Linked DNA regions of Homo sapiens: regions 2 and 3 are each linked to region 1. The links are contacts of gene promoters, found by promoter capture Hi-C in human tissues and cell types (Jung and others, 2019). All regions are on one chromosome and are shown on one strand. Each heading gives the region's core, a stretch centred on a gene start or on the middle of the fragment in contact. The rest is flanking DNA. Distances are from core to core; before and after follow the strand shown.

Region 1 (4,207 bases), core at 220-2,719:
TGTAGGTTAGAAGCCACAATGAAAAGAAAACGAGGGTTCCTTCAGGAATGGTGAACAGCCTGGAGAATGAACGTGAGAAGGAGCTTTGTGTTTTGGAGTCTGGACTGGAACCAAAGCAGACAGCTTGCAAATGGAGGACAGGGAGATAAAGAAAGGGAAAGAGGGGCTGCTCCAATGGGGGGCGGCTGCGGCTTCCCCTCGTGCCTGGAAGGAGGGCAGACCCCTGGGAACTGCACCAGGAGTGAGACGCCCCCCCAGGCCCCTGCCTTCCTTTCTCCCTTCCTCAGAGGAGAGCCAAGCGTGTGTAATGGCTTCTCCTCTCCAGAAACCGTTGTCCTCCTCCACCAGACGCTTCTGAACCTCCAGCCTGGAGACAGCTCCTCAGCCGCTCCTGAACCTGCGCCCCCCACCCGGCCGGTGCCCCCCGCTCCTCGCCTCTCTGTTCACCAGCAGCACCGGCACCAGCAGCTGCAGCAGCCACCCCCCGACACATCCCGACCCCGCATCCCAACTTCGGGGAGAGGGAGAGAGAGAGAGAGAGAGAGAGAGAGAGAGAGAGAGAGAGAGAGAGAGAGAGAGAGAGAGAGAGAGAGAGCCAAATACCTGAGGAAGAGGGGGGCTGCCAATCCGCACGGCTTTGCCATCGGGCGGGGGACAGGCAGACAGAAGGGGGAAAGGAAGGAGAGGGACAGAGAAAGAAAGAGGTCAACCCGCTCAGGTCGGGGCCGCTCGCACGGAGCTCTCCCTCCTCTGACCCTCGCTCGCTCCCTCTGGCTCTCGGCTCAGGTCTCCGGCCTCCCGCCCTCCGCCCCCCTCTGTCCCTACTCCTGTCCCCACACTCGGAGCATCCGTCCTAAGCCTCCAGCTCTCTTCTCACTCATCTTTCATTTTCTCTTCTCTTCATAGAACTACACGAAATTAATTAAGCCACCGCGCTCACTCCCCCCAGCAGGAGCAGCAGCCAGCAGGAAAAGCACAGCCACCTCCACTGCCACCACTACCACCTTCTCCTCCTCTTCCTCCTCCTCCTCTTCCTCCCTCGCTTCTCCTCCTCCTCTTCCTCCTCCCCCTCCTGCTCTCCCTCCTCCCCCTCCTCCTCTTCTCTCTCGCTTCTTCTCCTCTTCCAACAGCCAGTCCATGCAGGGGACTTCCTCTCCTCCCCGCTCCTCCAACCCTCCTTGGCCGAATGAATGAGCGCGTTTGTGCCTCCACCACCCCGCGCTCTCTTCCCCGGAGCACTCGGACCACCCCGAGGTGGTTGTTAATTGCAGTAACTTACAGAAGAAGCGTCCCGGCGCCGGGAGGTGCTTCGGGTTCTCCAGCCCCACCGCCTCCTTATCCTCTTTCTCTTTCTCCTCTTCCTGCTCGGGTTATTGTTGTGGAAGTTGTTTGGGAGTCTCATGTGCTTCTGCCGGGTCTCAGCAATGGAGGATCGCCATCTTCCCTGCCTTCCTCGGCTCCTCAGACTCGCTGCAGCTGCAGATGACCTGAGATATCCGTCTCTCTCCCTCTCTCTCTCTCTCCCTCCCTCCCTCTCCCTCTCACTCTCTCTCTCCCCTCTCTCTCCTCTTCTCTCTCCTCTCCTCCCTCTCCCTCGCGCGCTCTCTCTCTCTCCCTCCCTCTGTGTCTCTCTCTGAATAATGAGCAACCAGGGGGAGAGAGAAAGCAAGACAGAAAGAGAGAAGGAAGACAATCTTCTCCTGCCACACAAAACGCCGGAGCACCAGGGGGTGCGCGAAGCCTTTCTAATAACAACAACAACGTGCAGCAGAGAGGAAGGAAAAAAAGAAAGAAAGAAAGAAATGAGGAAAAAGGCTAGGGGAAAAAAGAGGAAGAATTATCCAAGAGCTCGAGAAGAGCAGAAGGAGAAGCTGGAGGAGATGCTGAGGCTGCTGCTGCTGTTCCCCCTCCCCCCTGCTGAACCCCAGAAGGAGGCAAGGTGGTTGCAAAGTTAAGGCTGGGACATTGTCTTTGTCACTCAGAGCCAGGCCAGTGAGATGCAAGAGGAGGAGGTGGCGGCGGCAGAGGAGGAGGAGGTGGTGGTGGAGGAGGGGGAGGAAGAGGAGGAGAAGGAGGCAAAGGAGAAGGAGGCAAAGGAGAAGGAGAAGGGGAAGAGGGAGATGAGATGATGAATAAAGACCTGCGGAGAAGGCGGTGCGAGGAGCGCGGCCGCCGGGCCGAGGCGTGCGCGCTCGCGTCCCGGTGGCGCCCGGCAGCCCTGGCCCGCAGAGGAAGCCCCCGGTGAGGACCCTGCCCGGCAGCTCATAGCGCTCCCAACGTCAGCCCTGCCCGAGGCGCCGAGCCCGAGCCCCAGAGGGTCCCTTACTTGCATCCATCTAGAGGCCAACCTTTGCAAAGAACATACGTGGGGAACTGGAGGTTGCAAGTATAAACCCAGATCAACCACGTGGGGCTTTTTAATCCCTTTCCAGCTTGCGGTGTGAGTATTTCCAGTGAAAAGCTCAAATTGTCCATTACTGGCACGTATTTTGAAGTCTTCTCTCCTGAAATAAAGGCTCATTGTGCGTTTTATTTCTTTCCTGATATGGAAGGTGGGGGGGTGGAGGAGGAAAAGAGCCCATCATTCCGAGCTTCGGAACCACCACTTTCTTTTCCTAACTTGTGAAATGTTTTGACTGCGCACCAAAAGAAAAAAAGAACGCCTGCTTAAATAACTTTACACCCTCCAGCCCCGCGTTGTTTGCACTTTCTGGCTGATCATCTAAAGGCTCGGAAAGTAACAATCAGCGCTCTTAATGATAAGGTGTCATGGTGTTGAAGACACGCGAGCCAAGATGAAGCTTTCACACCTTGAATTTTTATTTAGTGTAATCTCTCCCGTATCATTCTGAACTATCTCTTTTGCAAAGGAGTGGTTCCCCCCCTCCACCACCAGGTCGAAAGTCTCCTACGGTTTTAATTGGACTGGGAGCGGTGGGGGTTGGGGATGGGGGTTCTACAGTATCAAAAAAATCAATGCAGCAAGTCAGGAGCAATTGAAGTTCAAGGGCATGGGCTGATTGTACCATTTCTATTTCTTGGATCTTGGAGTTGGACATCAACAGCCTCAGGAGAGAGAAACGCGCAGCGCGCGGGGCAGAAAGAGACCTTAATTAAAGTTTCTTTTGTCCGCGTCTGAATTGGGGATGTTGCTGGATTCCTTTGCATTGAGGAGCGCGCATCCGGTGAAGGCGCGGTGTTAAGGATCCTGGGCAAGTCTGTCCTCTTTAAATACTCGCCCTTTCTCCTCCCTCCCCCCAAGCAACAGTCCGAGAAGATATATACCTATAAATCCATACAATAAAGGAAGAGGAGGAGACGCGCGCGGAGTTGGTTCCCATCCGATAGCGGGGCTTCATAAACAGATCTAAATCCTCATTTTCCAAGATTTTCCCGACCCTATATTCCTGAGCAGAATCTCTCACCCCGAGGCACGATTTCACCCACTTCCAGTCAACACTTCCTGCCCTTTTCTCCTCCCACTCACATTGAAAAGCTCGGGATCCCTAAAAGGGTGTTGATGGCGGGGGTGATAAATAAATAAATAAATGACACTCTACGCGTGCGGTGGAGAAGAAAGGAGGGGGAGGGAGAGGAAAGGCGAGGAGAGGGAAGAGAAGTAAGGAGACGAGAACAAGGCGCAGAAAGGACAGAGGCGAAAGGGGAACGGGAGTCACCGAGAAGAGAAAGAAGAAAGGAGAGAGGAGGAGGACGCTGAGGCTGTTCCGGATTGAAATGATCCCGGCTTTGTGCGGCTTTGGGAGGACTCCCCCTTCCGAGTGCCCGGAGGGACCTAGGGAAGTCCTCCTGCCCCGAGCTCCTCCCCACCGGGACCCGGGGGGTGTCTGAGCGCTGGCCGCCGCCACCCCATAAATTCCTCGTGGCAACCGGAGGAAGCGCGCCAGGTCTCCGCCGTCCCTCCACTGTCCCGGCTGATAATTTACCTCTTTGTCTTTAATAAAAAGCTGACTTTTTCTGTCAAGCTCTGCACCGGGAAAATAACAATCGTATTTCAGGTTGAAAGCTCCTATTACTGCTGGGTTTTGGAGGCTGCGATAAAATCTTCATCGACGTGAAGGTACCTTCTGGGTTGGCTTGGGTCGTAAGTCCTAAGATGGGGGCCGTCCTTCCCTGGGGGCAGGGACGTAGGGAACCAGGCGGTGGGGAGGGAGAAAGGAGCGACGAGGTCAGAGGAAACCTTGGGTTT
Region 2 (3,912 bases), core at 16-2,515, 280 kb before region 1:
AGATATCTGCCCACCGTCAGCCACCCACCTAGCTTTGGCCAGAATTGTGGGAAAGAAATACACTTATATCTCATTTAAGCCACTGTATTTGGACCTCTTTCTTATAATAGCTTAGCCTGTATCCCAACCAATACCCGATGCTACCTCATTTGTCACACAATTTTATGGAGACTTTGCATCCCTTACTAGAACTACTCAACAGCTTCCTTGATGATCTCGTTAACTCCAGTGTTCCTCCCAACACTAGTCTATCCTCCATGTTGGTGGTCTCCAACATTTTTGGCACCAGGGACCAGTTTTGTGGAAGACAATTTTTCCATGGATAGGGGAGTAGGGAATGGTTTCATCAGGCATTAGATAGATTCTTATATGGAGCAGATAACCCTTGCATGCGCAGTTCATAGTAAGGTTTACACTCCTATGAGAATCTAATGCCACTGTTGATCTGACAGGAGCTGGAGCTTAGGTGGTAATACTCACTCACCTACAGCTCACCTCCTGCTGTGCAGCCCGGTTCCTAACAGACTGTGCACGGGTACTGGTCCATGGCCCCTGGGTTGGGGGCCCCTGCTGTACGTTTCCTGCTGAAGGGATATATCTAAAATTCAAATCCACTTGGAGAAACTTCCCATCATCCTTTAAGACCCAAATTTATTAGAATAAGACATGGGATCTGTATGATCTGCCAATCCTCTGTCTCTACTCCCCCTAGGCACCTATCGTTCAAATCATGCACAGATCACCTTGAGGTTCCCTGGTCATGGACCGCGATGTTCTGACTCCCGTTTCTTTGCTTGAGTGCTCCTTCTGCCCCAAACACTTTTCCCTTTCAACTGCCTCACTAACTCTTGCTTTTCTCCCAGCTCTCAGCTCCAGCTGAGAGTTCTTCTCAAGACATCTTCTCTGGCCCCTCCTCACCCCAGGCTGTGTTTTAGTTCCCTTGTGTGTACTTTCACAGCTCCTTGGGAGTCCCTAATAGCACTCACTAACTTGGTTACAATTTATCAGCCTGCTAGCCTGAGCTGCTCTCAGAGCTTCAGAAAACCAACTGTAGTCACTGTTGGACCATGTTTCTCCCAGCCAGAGGCCATCCTCCAACACAGGAGCAATGCTTCTCCACAAGGACTTTGCCCACAACAAGGGCAGCAGCTCATGCTGACTGCCAAGATCAATCTTACTGTCTGCCCTAGTGACATCCAGATCCCAGTTTTCCCTTTTCTTCTTTCAGAGAGCCCATTCTTCTCAGCTTGCACAACTGATCAGAGGTGGGGTGACTCGCTAAGTTACCAACTCCCAGCCTGAGATTCTACTTGCATCGTGCTCAGCAGTTGCCAGTAGCAGTCTCCAATGTGTAGATGGCAACCAGCATAGATCCTGGGCAGTGATGATGTGCGGTCACCAGCCAGAGAGGCAGGTGCTGGGAGCAAAGGGGAAATAGAGCAGAGCGGGGTGGATGTCCAGCTTAGTCTCTGCAGCTCACAGTGCTAGCCTGTGATTTCACAGTTGGCTCTACAAAACAGGCAGTGGGCCAAATTTGGCCCACGGAATGTAGTTTGTTGGCCCCTGCCCTAGATAATCAACAGAACAATAAATCAAGCCCTGGTTTGTAGTGTTTGCCAATTTCTGTGGTACAAATACTCCCACCATGGCCAATTTCAAGTTGCCAACATGACCCCACTGAATATTGGGCTGGGAAGACACGCAGTAGCACACGATTATGTAATATTTCCACCTTAAAGATACAATACGCGTGACCTCAACATCAGAGCTGACAGTAAAACACAGTGAAATAATAATGATTTTTGAGTATTTATTACTCTTGTTTATAATGATTTACTTACTTGTAAATTTCTATGATTTAGTATTTAATAATAGCTGAAAATTTAACAGTCCTTGGTCCGTAGCACACCACTGCGCTGGGTCTCTCACTACTCCAGCCATATGGGAGGGAATCGAGAAAAGACACCCAAAAGAGAGATCTGACACAGATCTCTTGACATGGAAGCTTTGACATAGAAGGTTTAAACTCTTCTATTCCTTCCACTGAAGACTTTATCTCCTAGGCAATGTCCAATTGGGATCTTAGTCTCACAAAGATGAGATATTTTTCCTTCGGGACAGAGTGAAAGGGGTTTTTGAGCACCCCCTAGTGGTTACAGTGTGTCACCAATATGAACTCCACATATTCTGTGTTCTTTTGCGTTCTACTCCCATTAGGTGCTGTTGGCCGTGTACCTACTGTGTGCCAGGTACTTTTTTGGAAACATTCTATACGTTTTATTGCCTAATATTTACAGCAAACTTGCAAGTCAACATTCTTGTGTAAATTTTACAGATAAAGAAACTAAGGCTCAGAGAGGTTAAGCAACTAGCCCAAAGGCCACACAGCTAGGTCACATCAGACATAGCATTCAAATCCTAGAAGTGGCTGCCTCCCAAGCTTTGTACTGTCTTTTGCTCCTCTTTGACATCTTTTTTTTTTAACTTTTATTTTAGGTTCAGGGGTACATGTACAAGTTTGTCATGTCATGTGGGTTTGTTGTACAGATTATGTCATCACCAGGTATTAAGCCTAGTAACCATTAGCTATTTTTCCTGATCTTCTCCCTTCTCTTACCCTTTGCCCTCTGACAGGTCCCAATGTGTGTTGTTCCCCTTGATGTGTCCATGTGTTTTCATCATTTAGCTCCTACTTATAAGTGAGAACATGTGGTTTTCGGTTTTCTGTTCCTCTGTTAGTTTGCTAAGGATAATGGCCTCTAGCTCCATCCATGGCCCTGAAAAGGACATGATCTCGTTCTTTTCATGGCTGCATAGTATTCCATGGTATATATGGACCACATTTTCTTTATCCAGTCTATCATTGGTGGGCACTGGAAGACAACCTAGGCAATACCATTCACGACATAGGCACGGGCAAACACTTCATGATGAAGATGCCGAAAGCAATTGCAACAAAAGCAAAAATGTGACAAATGGGATCTAATTAAACTAAAGAGCTTCCGCACAGCAAAAGAAACTATTAACAGGGTAAACACACAACCTACAGAGTGAGAGAAACTATGGATCCTTTGACACCTTTAATTCCAGTACACAGCCACCTCAGAAACAGAGGGGAGACTGATGTGGCAGGCACACTGGATGTCACGGCCTTTGCTTCCCTTCTCTGTTTCTCAGTTAAGTGGACAGTGGTTCTGGAGAACTCAGGCATGGGAAATACATGTTACAGAAGGTCATTTACAGAAACAAATGAAACCCTCACATTTCAAAGGTTCAGGAGTAAACTGGACAAGCAGACAAATCCAGTATGGCAGAGACAGGCCTTGCAGCCTCTAGGAGCTGTGTGTTGATCACCGTGCTATAATGCACATCTCTTGTCTCATAGTTGCCCAGTTGAGGTGGACTTTGACTTATGACATGGTTCTGCCACCCCATCCCACTTCATGGGCAAGTTAGGGAATATCCCTGATACCTTAGCCTCGTCAGATAGGAAAGCTTTCCAGAATAGACTAAAGGTGGAGGGGGTAGTGTATCAGTTCCTTATTGCTGCTGTACCAAATTACCATAAGCTTTGTGGCTTAAAACAGCACAGATTTATTATCTTATAGTTCTATAGGTCAGAAGTCCAACCCAGGTCTCACTGGGCTCAAAGTAGGGTGTCAGTAGGGCTGTACTTCTTGGTGGAGGCTTTAGAGGAACATCCGTCTCCCCGCCTTTTCCAGCTTCCAGAGACCACCCGTATTCTTCAACTCGTGTGCCGCTTTTTCCACCTTCATAGAAACATTGCCTCTCTCTGACTCTGCCTCCATAGTGGCAGCTCGCTCTCTGACTCAGCTGGGAAATGTTCTCCACTTTTAAGGACTCCATGTGATCAGATTGGGCACGCCCAGATAATCCAGTATAATCTCCCAA
Region 3 (3,947 bases), core at 1,206-3,705, 400 kb after region 1:
TCTCTATCTCTCTTTTTTCCTCCCTATGCATTTGTCAGATGTCATATGTCATCTGTGGGACCAAACCGTGTGACCACATGTTACACATTTCAAATTGTAGCAAAAATAACAAATGGATTTACTCCTTCATTGTTCTGTTGAATGTTCTATTTTGGCAGCCCCAATTTCCAGAACAAAGATAAAAGGCCAAGAGGCTGATCCCAGGAGCAACTCTACTTTTGCCTCAGGATTTTTCATGTGACCACATGTCACACGGTTTGAGTCTCTGGAGAGAGAAAATGGAATTCCACAATGTTGAGGGAGAAAAAAGACAGCAGCACCTCACTTGTTCCTTCTCTTTCCATGATAGTAATACATAACGCTATGTATAGCAGTATATGTAAATGCCTGGTTAAGCAAATTTTCAGATTATATTATCTAGTTTTCAATAAATGAAGACTGTCAAAATTGACAGACAGCTTTAATAGTTTCTTCCAAAGAAACCATGGATAAAAAATAATCATAATAAGGCAAATCCAAGCAACAATAAAACAGCAACTGAGACATCTATTTTTAGTATAAGATCTTCTTATGCTTCTTTATGGAGTGAAATGATAGTCATATGTACATGACTTAAAACATAAATTTGTACCAAATATCCTTAACAATGTATTATTAATGAAGCAAAATAATTATTTAAATATTATCTTATCTTTAATACTTATGTTATGCATCTATATTTGTGTATATTTCATAATGAAAATAATATGTTAGCAAAGGAGTACTTGTATATATATTATAAATAAATAAATATAGTTAATTTAGTAGTACAGGTTCAATGTTTTTGTTTGTTTTGTTTTGTTTTTCAGATGGAGTCTTGCTCTGTTTCACAGCCTGGAGTGCAATGGCATGATCTTGGCTCACTGCAACTCTGCCTCCCAGGTTCAAGCGATTCTCCTGCCTCAGCCTCCCGAGAAGCTGGGATTACAGGCACCCACCACCATGCCCAGCTAATTTTTTTGTATTTTTAGTAGATATGGGGTTTCACCATGTTGGCTAGTCTGGTCTCGAACTCCTGACCTCAAGTGATCCACTCACCTCGGCCACCCAAAGTGCTGAGATTACAGACAGGAGCCACCTCACCTGGCCAGGTTCAATGTTTTTGCCCCATGATAATCAAAAATATTTGAAGACTATGGATGTAAGGGATGAGAAGCAATTAGCCATGTGACAAGTAGAGAAATAGACAATCTGGGCAGATGGAATGGTATCTGCAAAGGCCTGTTTGAAGAACCGAGGAAAATCCAGTATAGCTGGGGTGCGTACCGTGGAAAGGAAAAGTAATGTGAGATGAAATGGAGTGATAGGCAAGGACAAGTTCACAGAGGACCCTGGACTATAGTAAAAGATTTATACTTTAGTGAAATTACCAAGACCTTTAAATGTTTAAAGCAGTGATGGAATGATGAAATTTAAGTCTAAGTTTAAAAAAAATGTATATGGCTGTTATTGGATGATGAAATCATGCTGGGTAGACATGGAAGTGAAGCAACCAGTTAGGAGGCTGGTATAGTAATTCAAGCAAGAGATTATTGTGTCATGAACCAATGTAGTGACAGTATAGATAAAGAGAAGCAGATAGATTTTAAAAACATGTTGGGTATTAACTCAACAGTACTTGCAGACGGATGGAATGAGAGTGGGAAGTTGATGAAGAGAATGAAGAAATCAGGAAAATTTTCCAGGTTTCTTGCTTGAACAACATAATGTAAGTTGGTATTATGTATAAAGAAGGGGAGTGGGTTTGATGACAGAATCAAGATTTCTGTTATAGGAATATTAGGTTTGAGATTTCTGTGGGAAATTTAAGAGATGATGGTAATCAGGTGGTTGGATGTACATGTTGTATGGAACTCACAAGAGAAATACCATTGGCTGTCCTTAGCTGTTAGTACCTTCAAGGTAAGATCTAACATCTTTAAAGCCTTAGGACTTGGCTCATTACAGTGATAGGCGCTGAGAAAATGTCTATTGAATCCAGGAGTTTGGGAGAAAGGGAGTAAAGGGAAGAACACTTGACTAGAATTTGTAGGTCAAGGTGGCAGCCATTGTCCCGGCACATACTAGACATAGACCTTCCATAGCTAATGGTACAGTCATTCTCAACTGAAAAGGAGCAATTAGGCATGTCAAAGTCAATGACAAAAGAAAAGTGCCTCAATCAGTTCTGGGACAAGCTCTGAAAAATCCTGAGGCAAAAGTAGAGTTTCTCCTTGGATCAGCCCCTTGGCATTTTATCTTTGTTCTGGAAATTGGGGCTGCCAAAATAGAACATTCAACAGAACAATGAAGGAGTAAATCCATTTGTTGTTTTTGCTACAATTTGAATATCAACTGAAAAAAATTTAAGATCCATTAGAAAATTTAAGGAAGTGATTAAATATAAGATACATTTTAAAAATTCAATAGTTTCCCTATATAGCAAACAGTATTAATTAGAAATATAAATACAAAAAGTATTCAATTCATCCTGAGCCTCCCCTGCCAAAAAACACCCTAAGACTAATCTTCATGAACAATGTTTAGGAATAAAGTAAACAAAACCTATAAAACTACCCTGAGAAATATAAATTAAGATTTAAATAATAGGGAGGCAGATTGTCCTCCTATACTATTATTATCTTTAGTATTTCAAGAGTACAAATTCTTCCAAATTTTGGTATAGGACTAAGAAAATGACAGTCAAAATCACAATGGAGTTATTTTTTGAACTTGGTGAAATCACTCAAAAGTTTATATTGAAGAATACACATGTGAGAATCAAAAGCCAGTGGGTAAAGAAGAGTGAGAGAGGAGGAGCACAGTCTGTGGCCCAAGGTAAAAGCACAAGGATTAGGACAAGATAAGGGCCCTCTTTATATAACAAGGGTTTCTACTCTCTCTGTAGGTGCTTGATACCACCCATATATCTGGTAAGCATCCGAGGCCAATTTCAGAACTTCCATTTAACTGTATCATCCGTTATAACAGAATCTTTCATTCTGGCATCTAACCCATTGTTTTTATAATTTTTTAAAATGGCTGATTTCTCACTAGACTATTTTTTCATATTTATATTTCTACTGTCTAACACAGTATGTCATACATTGAAATTGTTTCACAATATTTCTCATGAACAAATGAATAAATGTTCTGGAGATCCTAGTACTTTACTGCTGTATTCCTGGATCAGAATTTTGTTCAGTCAATATTTATTACTAATAAATTAGCACTGACTAATGCTACGAGAGATACTAGAGAAGCCAAAAACCATTCCATTGATGAGAATTATTAAGCTTCTTAAGGGAATTATTTCTAGTACCTCTGAGTACAGATTATTTGTTTCTCCAAACACCTGAATACCTATTTCTCAAACCTCTGACATTTTACAGTGACCACTTAAGAACAGCCACATATGGTATCCAACCTGAGTTAGAGTCCTGGCAATGGCGTGACTTAAAAGGGGCTCTCAAGCTTAATAGCTCCTGTGTTTTCTGGATTTATAAGGAAATGTGTCTTTGTTTTACTCACAAAAGCATTTTTTAAGAGATCTCAAGAATTTGAAGGTTTGAAATGATAAAAAATGCTCATATTTTTTCACAGCTAGAAATCTGGAGCAGGGTTTTACTACCAACCTCCTTCTTCCTGCTTTGAAGCAAGAATAGGAAGCTCTTGCTGTTTATTACTGCTGGTTCATCAGACAGTCAATTTTAAGGCCATATTGGATAGTTATTGATTGATGTTCTTTTTCAAAATTATTTGAAAATCCTGACAATTCATTGTCTATTTGTGAACTTTGTTATTCAAAATGCTGTTGAATGAACCTCACTTAACTGAAAAAGTAGTCTGGTTGTCCCTGCTTTGTGCTATACCCACCAGTGAGCTCATAGTTCAAAAGTGAGCTCATAGTTCAACAGTTTTGAGATTGT

The links. Contacts are between HindIII fragments. The study calls those that stand out against the background at their distance.
Region 2: a contact is called between a fragment that was not itself captured here and the fragment with the promoter of ZNF462 in region 1, in 2 of the 25 tissues and cell types used here (H1 embryonic stem cells and hippocampus).
Region 3: a fragment that was not itself captured here is called in contact with the fragment with the promoter of ZNF462 in region 1 in 2 of the 25 tissues and cell types used here (H1 embryonic stem cells and liver).

What each region holds. Positions count from the first base shown.
Region 1 is chr9:106,860,428-106,864,634 of GRCh38, reverse strand. ZNF462 (zinc finger protein 462) reads right to left here and starts at 1,469. Exons shown (of 13, transcript NM_021224.6): 1 at 1,280-1,469. It overlaps LOC105376204 (a long non-coding RNA gene), which reads left to right and starts at 4,115. Exons shown (of 1, transcript XR_005646978.2): 1 at 4,115-4,207. The HindIII fragment of the contact is 13,314 bases long and covers 1-4,207 here.
Region 2 is chr9:107,136,029-107,139,940 of GRCh38, reverse strand. No RefSeq gene overlaps it. Among named protein-coding and RNA genes, the nearest start is that of RAD23B, 150 kb to the left of the region's middle. The HindIII fragment of the contact is 4,535 bases long and covers 1-3,532 here.
Region 3 is chr9:106,459,748-106,463,694 of GRCh38, reverse strand. The region is part of intron 3 of LOC107987108 (a long non-coding RNA gene); the gene reads right to left. Among named protein-coding and RNA genes, the nearest start is that of MIR8081, 140 kb to the left of the region's middle. The HindIII fragment of the contact is 4,466 bases long and covers 223-3,947 here.